Regions from separate parts of the Homo sapiens genome. Here region 1 is linked to region 2. Evidence: promoter capture Hi-C in 16 types of primary human blood cells and fetal thymus (Javierre and others, 2016). All regions are on one chromosome and are shown on one strand. Each heading gives the region's core, a stretch centred on a gene start or on the middle of the fragment in contact. The rest is flanking DNA. Distances are from core to core; before and after follow the strand shown.

Region 1 (4,950 bases), core at 1,936-4,435, 200 kb after region 2:
TTCAGGAAGATACATTTTATTATTCTGACTTCTCTACCCCATGCTGTGCTTCAGTTATCCTAGGAGTAGCATCCTGGTTTAACAAGCAGAGTACTGAGTCACCATTACATAGTTTTAAACTGATTAAAACATGTATTTCAGGGAATGTAACTTTGGGGCAAAAGTATTCAGTAGGTGGAATGCAGTTTTTAATCCTCTCAGAAAATAATGAATAACTTTATCTTTAAAAATATTTTATCATCAATATTAATAACTATTCCACGTGAGTTACACTCTTCCATTTTTTATTCTTGCTTTCATTGCTGTTCTGAGTTTTCATAGGTGTTGTTATGGAAGAGATGTTAAAATGCCTGACAGCCAGTTCTAGCCCTTAGAAAATTAACCTAATATGCGGCGTAAATTGCTCAACACACACGTTGAATCAATCAACAGGTCTATTTGCTTCTAACCCTCGATCAAACAATACTCTCTTGTAATTAGATACTATTCTGTGTTCATCAACATTTCAGCTTCATGATCTTAGGCCCGATAAATAATTCATTCCTGTTTCTGCACCTTGCAACTTCTTTAAATCCTATATACAACCTCAAGCTTGTGTGTACATACTTTTAGACAAAAACAGTTCAAGTTTATTACATGTCTGGTACATGCATTTATTCACTGTACTCTCAGTGCCTAACAACGCTTGGCATATAATAGGTCCTCAGTAATTATTTGTTGAATGAATTACTTCATTTAATCCTTATAACAATGTTATGACTAAATATTATGGTTGTCCTGTTTTTACAGATAAGAGTAAATAATTTATCCAAGGTCACAGAGCTTCTAAGAATCAGAGCTGGGCTTTGAACTCATATGCTTTGTTGGGCACAGTGGCTCATGCTTATAATCCCAATGGCTCTGGAGGCTGATATGAGAGGATTGCTTGAGGCCAGGAGTTCAAGGCCAGCCTGGGAAACATAGTAAGACCCTGTATCTAAAAATTTTTGTAAAAAAATTAAAACATGTATTTCAGGGAATGTAACTCTTGGTGGTACAGGCCAGTAGTCCCAGCTACTCAGGAGGCTGAGGTGAGAGGATTGCTTGAGCCCAGGAGTTCAAGGCTGCAGTGAAGTATGATTGAGCCATTGCACTTCAGTCTGGGCAACAGAGTGAGACTCAATTAAAAAAAAAAAAAAAGAAACTATATGTTTAAACCAGCTTCTGCTAACTAGATTTAAATCTGTTTTTGCCTCAGATCACTCTGGATCCCCATTAGGTGTGTGGTCACCCACTATCTAAAAACAATGAAATCAATACAATACAATCAACAAATTATACTATGTATCTTTTTTTTTTTTTGAGACGGCATTTCGCTCTTGTTGCCCAGGCTGGAGTGCAATGGCATGATCTCGGCTCACTGCAACCTCGGCCTCCTGGGTTCAAGTGATTCTACTGCCTCAGCTTCCCGAGTAGCTGGGATTACAGGCATGTGCCACCACACTCGGCTAATTTTGTATTTTTAGTAGAGACAGGGTTTCTCCATGTTGGTCGAACTCCCGCCCTCAGGTGATCCACCCGCCTCAGCCTCCCAAAGTACTGGGATTATAGGCATGAGCCACCACGCGTGGCCTATACTATATATATTATTTAGGGATAGAATAATCCCTTATTATGATTCTAAATATTAGTCTAATCCCTAAATAAGATATATAGTATAATGTGTTATACAAATATTATATATTTATTTTATTTTTTATTTAAAAAATTGAGACAGGGTCTTGCTATGTTGCCCAGGCTGGTCTTGAACTTCCAAGCTCAAGTGATCCTCCCACCTCGGCCTCCCAAAGTGCTGGGATTACAGGTATGAGCCACTGTGCCCAGCCTATGTTATAAATTTAAATCAGACAGCAGCTACTAGTAGGTAGACATTAGGTTGCACAGGAATAATCTATTCTACTGATTATGTGGGGACATTTGCCCTGACCCATTAGACACTGAATCTCACGGAGCTGCTTCCTATCACCTCCCAAGATGACTGACCAGATAGGTGTGTGTGTTTGGGAGAACAGAGGTGAAGACTCTGATTGTTAACAATTATTAGTGCTCCTCACAGCGTAGAACAGTGCCTAATATGTGGTAGTCACACATCGATTTTTATGACGTGCCCTGAAATGTGTGAGGAAAGAGACTTTTCATTCCAAAGGATAATTAGACAGATTGAGTTTGGAATTTCTTGTGTTTTTGGAAGCAAGTTTTAAATATTAGGACAATTTCTGTTGTTTTGAGTGTCCTGAGGATCCGATGCAATCTGAACACAAAGGTTTTATTGACTCCACAGACCTTAATGTGCCTGAAGGTGTCTATAGACGTTCACATCCAAACCCTCCTCCCAGTGTTCCTAGCCCTCTGCTAACATGGATAATCACTGCTCGAATCTTTCCTAATATAAATGGGATCTGTTTTGGCAGACTTCTTTCCAAGGTGTTACAGCCCAAGCACCAAACATGGACAAAGTAAATAGGTGGTAATTATTGACAAGTTCATTGCTAGGTTAATGTGTACATTTCCACTGACAGCTATAATCATTTGTTTGTTCTAACCTGAACTTTCACTAGCTGCTTGCTGTCCATGCGGCCTAGGCAATCAGATGAAGCTTGAATTTCACAGTTATGTGAATTGTTCTTTGTACTGCAGTCATACCTTCAGTTTTCACCCAATATTTCACACTCTGACATCTAGTTAGGTCATCTGGTCCTAACTAGACAAAAGTTTTCCTTTTGAATTGAAGAACAAACATCATAAACATTAAATTTAATTTGTATAGGCTTTTCTTGCATATAGAAATTATATAAATGGGATTTTTTTTCTTTCAAATGTGTGCCTTGTGTCATTTCTGGAGCCTGGCACTTAAATAGCATTTGGTATGTCTTTGTGATAGGCCTGGCGATTGCATATGGCTAATTGAAATGGAATAAAAAAACTACATACATGGTTCAAAAATGTGAAAATATTTGGAAAAGGCAGGTCTGAAAAGTATACCTTCCACCCCATCCTCATCATCTATTTAGTTCGAATCACACCTGTGAATACACACTTATTATTTTAGGGTTTTTTTTTTTATATATTCTTTTGAAGTTTATTTATGCATTGCAAATATTATTTCCTTCTCTCATCTTTATTTATAAAATGTAGTGTACTATACCCACCGTTCCTCACTTTGTTTTTTTCACCTAACACTATGGAGATTTTTCCACATTTATATGCAGAGAACTTCTTTCTCCTTTTTTATACCTGCATAATAATATGTTCCTTGATTTATTTAACCAGCCCCCCTATTGAGGGACATTTAATTTGTTTACAGTCTTTCCCTGTTGCAGACAAGACTGCCATGAATTCCTTTGTGCCTACATCATTTTGAATGTGTGCAAGTATATCTGTAGGACAGTTTCCCAGGAGTGGCATTACTAGGTCAAAGGGTGTACGCACTGAAAGTTTTGATAGATAACTGCCTAAATGTGTTCTGTAAGACTTGAAGCAGTTTACACTGTCATCAACAATAAAGTAAATCTTTTTCTAAAACAGAAAACTTTCAGACATTTGTGCAGCCACATCGAAACATACACATGGGACAGAAGTCAGGAGATAAGGAGGGAGCATGCACTTGGTTTCAGGTGCTTTAGTTTGTGATCTTATTTAATCCTCACAATAGCCTTAAAACACAAACATTAATTGCACCAAATACAGCTAGAAAACGAAGCTTAATACAGATAAGTCACTTGCCCTGGTCTCAGAGCTAGTAGGTCTAGTAAGCCTACTTACTAGATGGATGGATGGACCTGGGGCACATGGCTAATGTGTGTGACTCCAAAGCCCCTGTTCTTTTCACAACTTCCAGTTCCATCTGGGATCTGGTCCTAGTTCTGCAAGAAACTTGTAGTGTGGCCTTACACATAGAACATATGCAATCAGCTGAGTGTGGACGCTCGAGCCTGTAATCCCAGCTACTTGGGAGGCCGTAGTGGGAGAATCAGGAGGTCAAGCACCACTGTACTCCAGCCTGGGCAACACAGTGAGACTTCTCTCTAAAGAAAAGAAAAAAGAGGCCGGGCGCAGTGGCTTACCCCTGTAATCCCAGCACTTTGGGAGGCTAAGGTGGGCAGATCACCTGAGGTTGGGAGTTCGAGACCAGCCTGACCAACATGGAGAAACCCCATCTCTACTAAAAATACAAAAAATTAGCCAGGTGTGGTGGCTAATTTTTTACTGGTATGCTGATGCCTGTAATCCCAGCTACTCTGGAGGCTGAGGCAGGAGAATCGCTTGAACCAGTGAGCCAAGATCGCGCCATTGCACTCCAGCCTGGGCAACAAGAGTGAAACTGCATCTCAAAAAAAAAAAAAAAAAAAAAAGAAAAGAAAAGAAAAAGAAAAGAGAATGAAAGAAAAGAAAAAAAAGCAAGCAATAACTGTTGAGTAGATGGATGGGTGAATGGGTGATTGACAGAGACGGGGATTCAGGGAGGTAAGAGTATTACTCAGAAAAGCAGAGGAGGAATCAGAACCTAATGAATACCAGAAACTGAAAGGTAATATTGGCCAAGATGGGCTTAGAAAGAGTGTCGGGTTGTGTATAGAGCCTCCTAGCTATGCAGGAAAAGGTTAGCACTGTAAAACAACGCTTGATTGTCTGCCATTAAATCATGCTTCTGGGCTGAGTGCAGTGGCTCATGCCTGTAATCCCAGCACTGTGGGAGGCCGAGGCAGGTGGATCACCTGAGGTCAGGAGTTCAAGACCAGCCTGGCCAACATGGTGAAACCCCGTCTCTACTAAAAATACAAAAATTTTCTGGACGTGGTGGCAGCTGGTGGTAGCTAGGACCCGTAATCCCAGCTACTCGGGAAGCCGAGGCAGGCGAATTTCTTGAACCTGGGAGGTGGAGGTTGCAGTGGGCAGAGATCACGCCATTGC
Region 2 (5,399 bases), core at 1,767-4,266:
AAGTAAGAAGGATTCTAATGCAAAACAAAAAGTTCTAATGTTTACAAGGAGCAAAGGGATGCTTATGTTTAAAGTCTATATTCGAGGCTGTTCACGAGTGTGAGGCCTGGGTCAAATGACTCTCCTGACCCAAATCCTTACTCCACAATAGACTACGTGGAGATCGAGAACTGAGAGTTGATCCCAAGTATAGCTACTCAGGTTGTGATTAGTTTAAACAGATACCAATTCCAGTTAACTTGTGAGCTCTTAGGAGTTCTCAGATAATACATACCTCATTTTTGTCTGCTTACATGAGTGCCCACATAAGAACTGAAAATCTGTTTTTTTTCTTTCTGGGACAGAGTCTCACTCTGTCACCCAGTCTGGAGTGCAGTGGTGCAACCTCGGCTCATTGCGACTTCTGCCTCCCATGTTTAAGTGATTCTCCAGCCTCAGGCTCCCGAGTAGCTGAGATTACAGGCGTATGCCACTACACCCAGATAATTTTTGTATTATTATTATTATTATTATTCTTAATTTTTATTTTTTGAGATGGACTCTAGTTTTGTTGCCCAGGCTGGAGTGCAGTGGCACAATCTCAGCTCACTGCAACCTCCGCCTCCCAGGTTCAAGCGATTCTCCTGAGTTGCTGGGATTATAGCCTCCTGAGTAGCTGGGATTATAGGCGCCCACTACCACACCCGGCTACCTTTTGTATTTTTAGTAGAGACGGGGTTTCACCATGTTGACCAGGCTGGTCTAGAACTCCTGACCTCAAGTGATCAGTTCGCCTCAGCCTCCCAAAGTGCTGGGATTACAGGTGTGAGCCATCGCCCAGTCCCAGAACTAAAAATCTTAAACCCACACTTCTGAATAAGGTTCTCTGTACATCTAGCACATGGCAGGACCTCTAGCAGAAAAGGCAATTTTGGCCTTTTCCTAATCTATAGTCTTAATTATCAACTTGCAATTCATCCTGAAGGTAACCCAGAAATCATTTCATTGTTTGTTCTGCCTTTATATTTCAGGACATTGAACTTGCTTTTCCTTCATTTTTTTCTGGCAGACCTGAAGATCATCCCACAAGGTAGAACAACTCATTTAACCTATTTGACTTGGCCCCAAGTGTAATTTGTACATAGATTAACTATTCTGAAGAATTCCAATAGAACTCCCTGGGGGGAAAACACCCATTTTAATTGGCATACACCAGAGTCACTGGAATCAGTTACTAAATTACAATTTCCTTACAATTTGGAAGGGTTTGGGGATTGTTATTGTTTTCCTGGTAAATTACTGGATCACACTGGTGTCTTGGAATAAGTCAACACATTTTAAATTTAAGTTTCCATAAACTGTAGCTCAACTTCCCAAGTTCCTAGGGGATTTTCACTGGCCCAGACTCAGGAAGAATTTTCTTCTATGGGATCCAAGACTTCAGAGACCAAACATTTCCTGAAGACTTTCCTCTGCTTTCTGACCTCCACCTACCTCCTCCCAAAGACATAACAAAAAAACTATTTGTGATCAGTGCAGGCAGCCAAGAGTGCCCAGTGGGCCTAAGGTACTGGGTAAAGGAACAGGAATCCACAATTCTTTCTTGGTATTAAGGTATCATTGACTTGCCTGATGGCTCGAGTATGTTAACCCCTTGCTTCATGGCTGGAATTTTAATTACCCCTCCTGGAGCTTTTCTGAAGAATTGATTTTGGCGTTTATTCATATTTCAGAAATCAACTCTATCATCAAATAGGAATGATGGTTAATTACAAAACAAAGTCCGCCCAAAGCACCAAATTATCAGACTGTGGCACATCCAGAGGTTTTGAAACTAGTTAGTGCTGCTGCCTCTGCTGGTAGCTTGTTAAAACCTGAACTGGGGCCGGGCGCAGTGGCTCACGCCTGTAATCCCAGCACTTTGGGAGGCCGAGGCGGGCGGATCACGAGGTCAGGAGATCGACACCATCCTGGCTAACACGGTGAAACCCCGTCTCTACTGAAAATACAAAAAAAATTAGCCGGCCGTGGTGGCGGGAGCCTGTAGTCCCAGCTACTCTGAGGCAGGAGAATGGCGTGAATCCGGGAGGCAGAGCTTGCAGTAAGCCAAGATTGCGCCACTGCACTCCAGCCTGGGCGACTCCGTCTCAAAAAACAAACAAACAAACAAAAACACAAAACCTGAACTGGGTGCGTTGGCTAGTGGTTTGGGAACAGAATTTTGGAGCTTTATAGGAGATGTCCTGGTCTGTTATACATCCACTCACCCCAGCCTCCAGGAACTGGGGAGCTGGTAGAGGGGGGTGCCGGCCACTTTGACTGTCGCTGGCCAATCCTGTCTTCTGCATCCCTCCAAGGCTCCATGGGGACATCCAAGGTGAGGTTCCTCCATTCTGCAAAGTTGCAAATGTCTCTGCTCATAATTTCAAAAGTCTTGTCTGAACTAGACTTTCCCTGCTCCCTCGGGGTAGGAATTTTGTCTCCTCTCCATCCTGGCATCTTTACCTCCTCCCCATCCCGGGGCCTGGTCCCCAGCCAGTGGACGCTCTGTTAATATGAACTGGCACTGGTGGGGTGCTCTGGGCACTGGCAAGACAGCTCTTGGCGCTTGTCATCAATTAGCCCAATTCTCACCACTTTTTTCTCCATCCCCGCGTCAGTGGGTGCGTCCCGCAGGTCATGACCCCAAGTTCTAGATGTAAGATTCCTGCCATGTCTCCTTTCCCCCAGAAGACCCCTCCCCGCACTCCCAACCCGACAGGCCCCTAAAGCTGCCTGTGTTCCGTGCCTGCGGCTCCGGACCCCTGGAGTCTGATGCCCGCCTGGGCTCAGGCACGGACGGAGTGGAGCCAGGTGGCAGCAGGCAGGGCGCGCCGCCAGAGTGCCCAGCTCCCGGGGCTGCCCACAGGGTGGGGCCGCCCTCGCCGCCGCTCCCTCTCCGCGCCTTCCCCATCCCCAAAGAGGACACCCCTCCTTCCGCCCGGCCCGCTCCCCACCCCCGCCGCGGCACCGCCTCCCCAGCCGCCCGCCCTTGCCCAGCGCCTCCCAGGCAGCCAGCGAGCGAAGGGAGCGCTCTGGGATGGGACTTGGAGCAAGCGGCGGCGGCGGAGACAGAGGCAGAGGCAGAAGCTGGGGCTCCGTCCTCGCCTCCCACGAGCGATCCCCGAGGAGAGCCGCGGCCCTCGGCGAGGCGAAGAGGCCGACGAGGAAGACCCGGGTGGCTGCGCCCCTGCCTCGCTTCCCAGGCGCCGGCGGCTGCAGGTGAGCGCGGCGCGCTTTCCCCCGGCTCTGCGCGGCCGGGCGGCCTCGAAGTGCAGGCGGACCGACCCACCGACAGAATACCGAGCCTGGGCTGCCCGACGCGCAGGCGCCCTCCCCAGGCCCGCACTGCAGCCCCCAGCGCCCCGGGGCCCCGGCGCCTTCGACCCCTCCGAGGACAGGGGGAGAGGGAGGGCGGCGCTGCCCGACCCCTCGGCCGGGAGAGCTGGGCGCGCTCCCTGCGCAGGACAAGCCGCGCTGCAGCCGCCCCGGAGTGCCCCGTGGGGGCGCTGTGGCACGCAGCGGGGACGCCCAGACCCCGGCCACCGCGACCCAGGGAAAGGGAGACCTGTTGAGCGGGTATGCAGGGTGATTCCTATTCCACGGACAGCCGATGGCTCCCCCTTCCCTCTTCGGAACCTGGTATTTTCATGCCCGTGTCATCTGGATTTTGTTCTTGGGTCTCTATGGCAGCTAAACCTCCAGCTTCCCTATATTGTGGAAGAGGGAGAGAAAGGGGAAGGCATTTTGTGGTAGTTGCTAGAAACCCCAGAACAATTTGGAGCCGTTTGGGGAGAGGACAGAGAAATGGGGACTGTCCCTGGTAGGGTCTCCAGGACTGGGGGCACAGGAAAGTGCTCTCCTCAGGGACACTCGCGCCCACCCTGAACAAACCCAATTGACCAAGTTTCAATTTGTCATAAATCAGGAAGCCACAATGCATCTGCACCAAGCACACTTAAAATCGGCCTTTAAGGAATGGGGCAGTCAAGAGACTTCAGGGACCCGTGGTCGAGAGCAGAGACTGGGGTCAGCCTGCTTGGGTTTCAACCCCAGCTGTGAAGTTTACAGGGTTGATAACTTGAAGGTACCCAAGTATGCCTCAGTTTCCTCATCTGTCTAATGAGGATGGTAATACCCACAGAACTGTGAGGATTAAATGAGATATGGCGGCCGGGCACGGTGGCTCAGGGCTGTCATCCCAGCACTTTGGGAAGCCGGGGCGGGCGGATCACCTGAGGTCGGGAGTTCGAGACCAGCCTGACCAACATGGAGAAACCCCGTCTCTACTAAAAATACAAAATTAGCCGGACTTGGTGGCGCATGCCTGTAATCCCAGCTACTCGGGAGGTTGAGGCAGGAGAATCGGTTGAACCCAGGAGGCAGAGATTGCAGTGAGCGGAGATGGTGCCATTGCACTCCAGCCTGGGCAACAAGAGCTAAACTCCGTCTCAAAAGAAAAAAAAAAAGATATGGCAAGTAAAGTCCTTAGAACATTTCCAGGAGCATTCTAAGATTAGGTGAGTTCCATGGCTTGTCTTTGCAGAAATAGCAAGGAGCTGCTATGAGCAGTGAATGTACCTCTTCCCCAGTTCAGAAAGAGAGGCTCTCCATGGGTACGTGAGGGTGGCAGATAAGCCACGTGTATGCAACTGGTAGTTCCATGCAGGAGTCCACACGGGCGCAGTTCTCCCTGCTTGCTCCCAAAGGGCCAACCTCATAAAACCATGTCAAAATACCAACATGGGTTTATGACCTGGAATGTTTCCTCTCAGTCCCTGAAACTTGGCACTTAGAATCCTCTGTGGAGAATGAGATACTTATGGCTCTTCACCTTGCATTTTCCTATCTGTCCACACTTTTTACTTTTATTTCTGCCAATAGAATTCAATCTCAGGCCCCCGAGTTACCAGGACACTGTCTTCTATAAATCGGGGCTCTGGGGTTTCTTGTTCCCAGGCAACCCAGGGCCACCAAGGCCTAAGCTTGCTTGTTGGAGGTGTCAGAGCAGAGTCCAAATCTGAAACACCCTCGAGCAGCTGTCATGCCCTAAGCTCTTATCAGCGAGTGCCATATGTCCTTGTTTAGCAAAAGGTAGTTAAAAGTGTGGCCTGAGATTTAAAGAAAAGGAGAGATGTTTGCTCTTTGAAATAAGAGAGCCATTGGAGGTTCTGGAAAAATAATTCTACAGTTTATTTAGAAACAGTTCTGACTGGCACCTAAGAGAGGGCAAGGAGTGAGGTGGGGAGACTAAAAGGGGGAGAGACCGGCTTAGGCCTCAGGAAAAGCAGGCCGAAGAGGGTGTGACAGGTCTAACGCTGGCCTGAGCAAGGTGTTGGGTATGAGGCTGGGCAAGCAGTAGGAGAGGTGAGTGGTTTAAG

What was found. The method cuts DNA at HindIII sites, captures the fragments that hold promoters and counts their contacts. A CHiCAGO score of 5 or more calls a contact.
Region 1: a fragment that was not itself captured here is called in contact with the fragment with the promoter of MATN2 in region 2 in 2 of 17 cell types (megakaryocytes and endothelial precursors); the score reaches 7.5 in megakaryocytes.

The regions. Positions count from the first base shown.
Region 1 is chr8:98,066,292-98,071,241 of GRCh38, forward strand. All of the region lies in intron 1 of ERICH5 (glutamate rich 5), which reads left to right. Among named protein-coding and RNA genes, the nearest start is that of ERICH5, 4.2 kb to the left of the region's middle. RefSeq lists a silencer at 4,476-4,585. The HindIII fragment of the contact is 1,104 bases long and covers 2,634-3,737 here.
Region 2 is chr8:97,866,048-97,871,446 of GRCh38, forward strand. MATN2 (matrilin 2) reads left to right here and starts at 3,017. Exons shown (of 19, transcript NM_002380.5): 1 at 3,017-3,240. RefSeq lists an enhancer at 2,118-2,617. The HindIII fragment of the contact is 10,066 bases long and covers 1-5,001 here.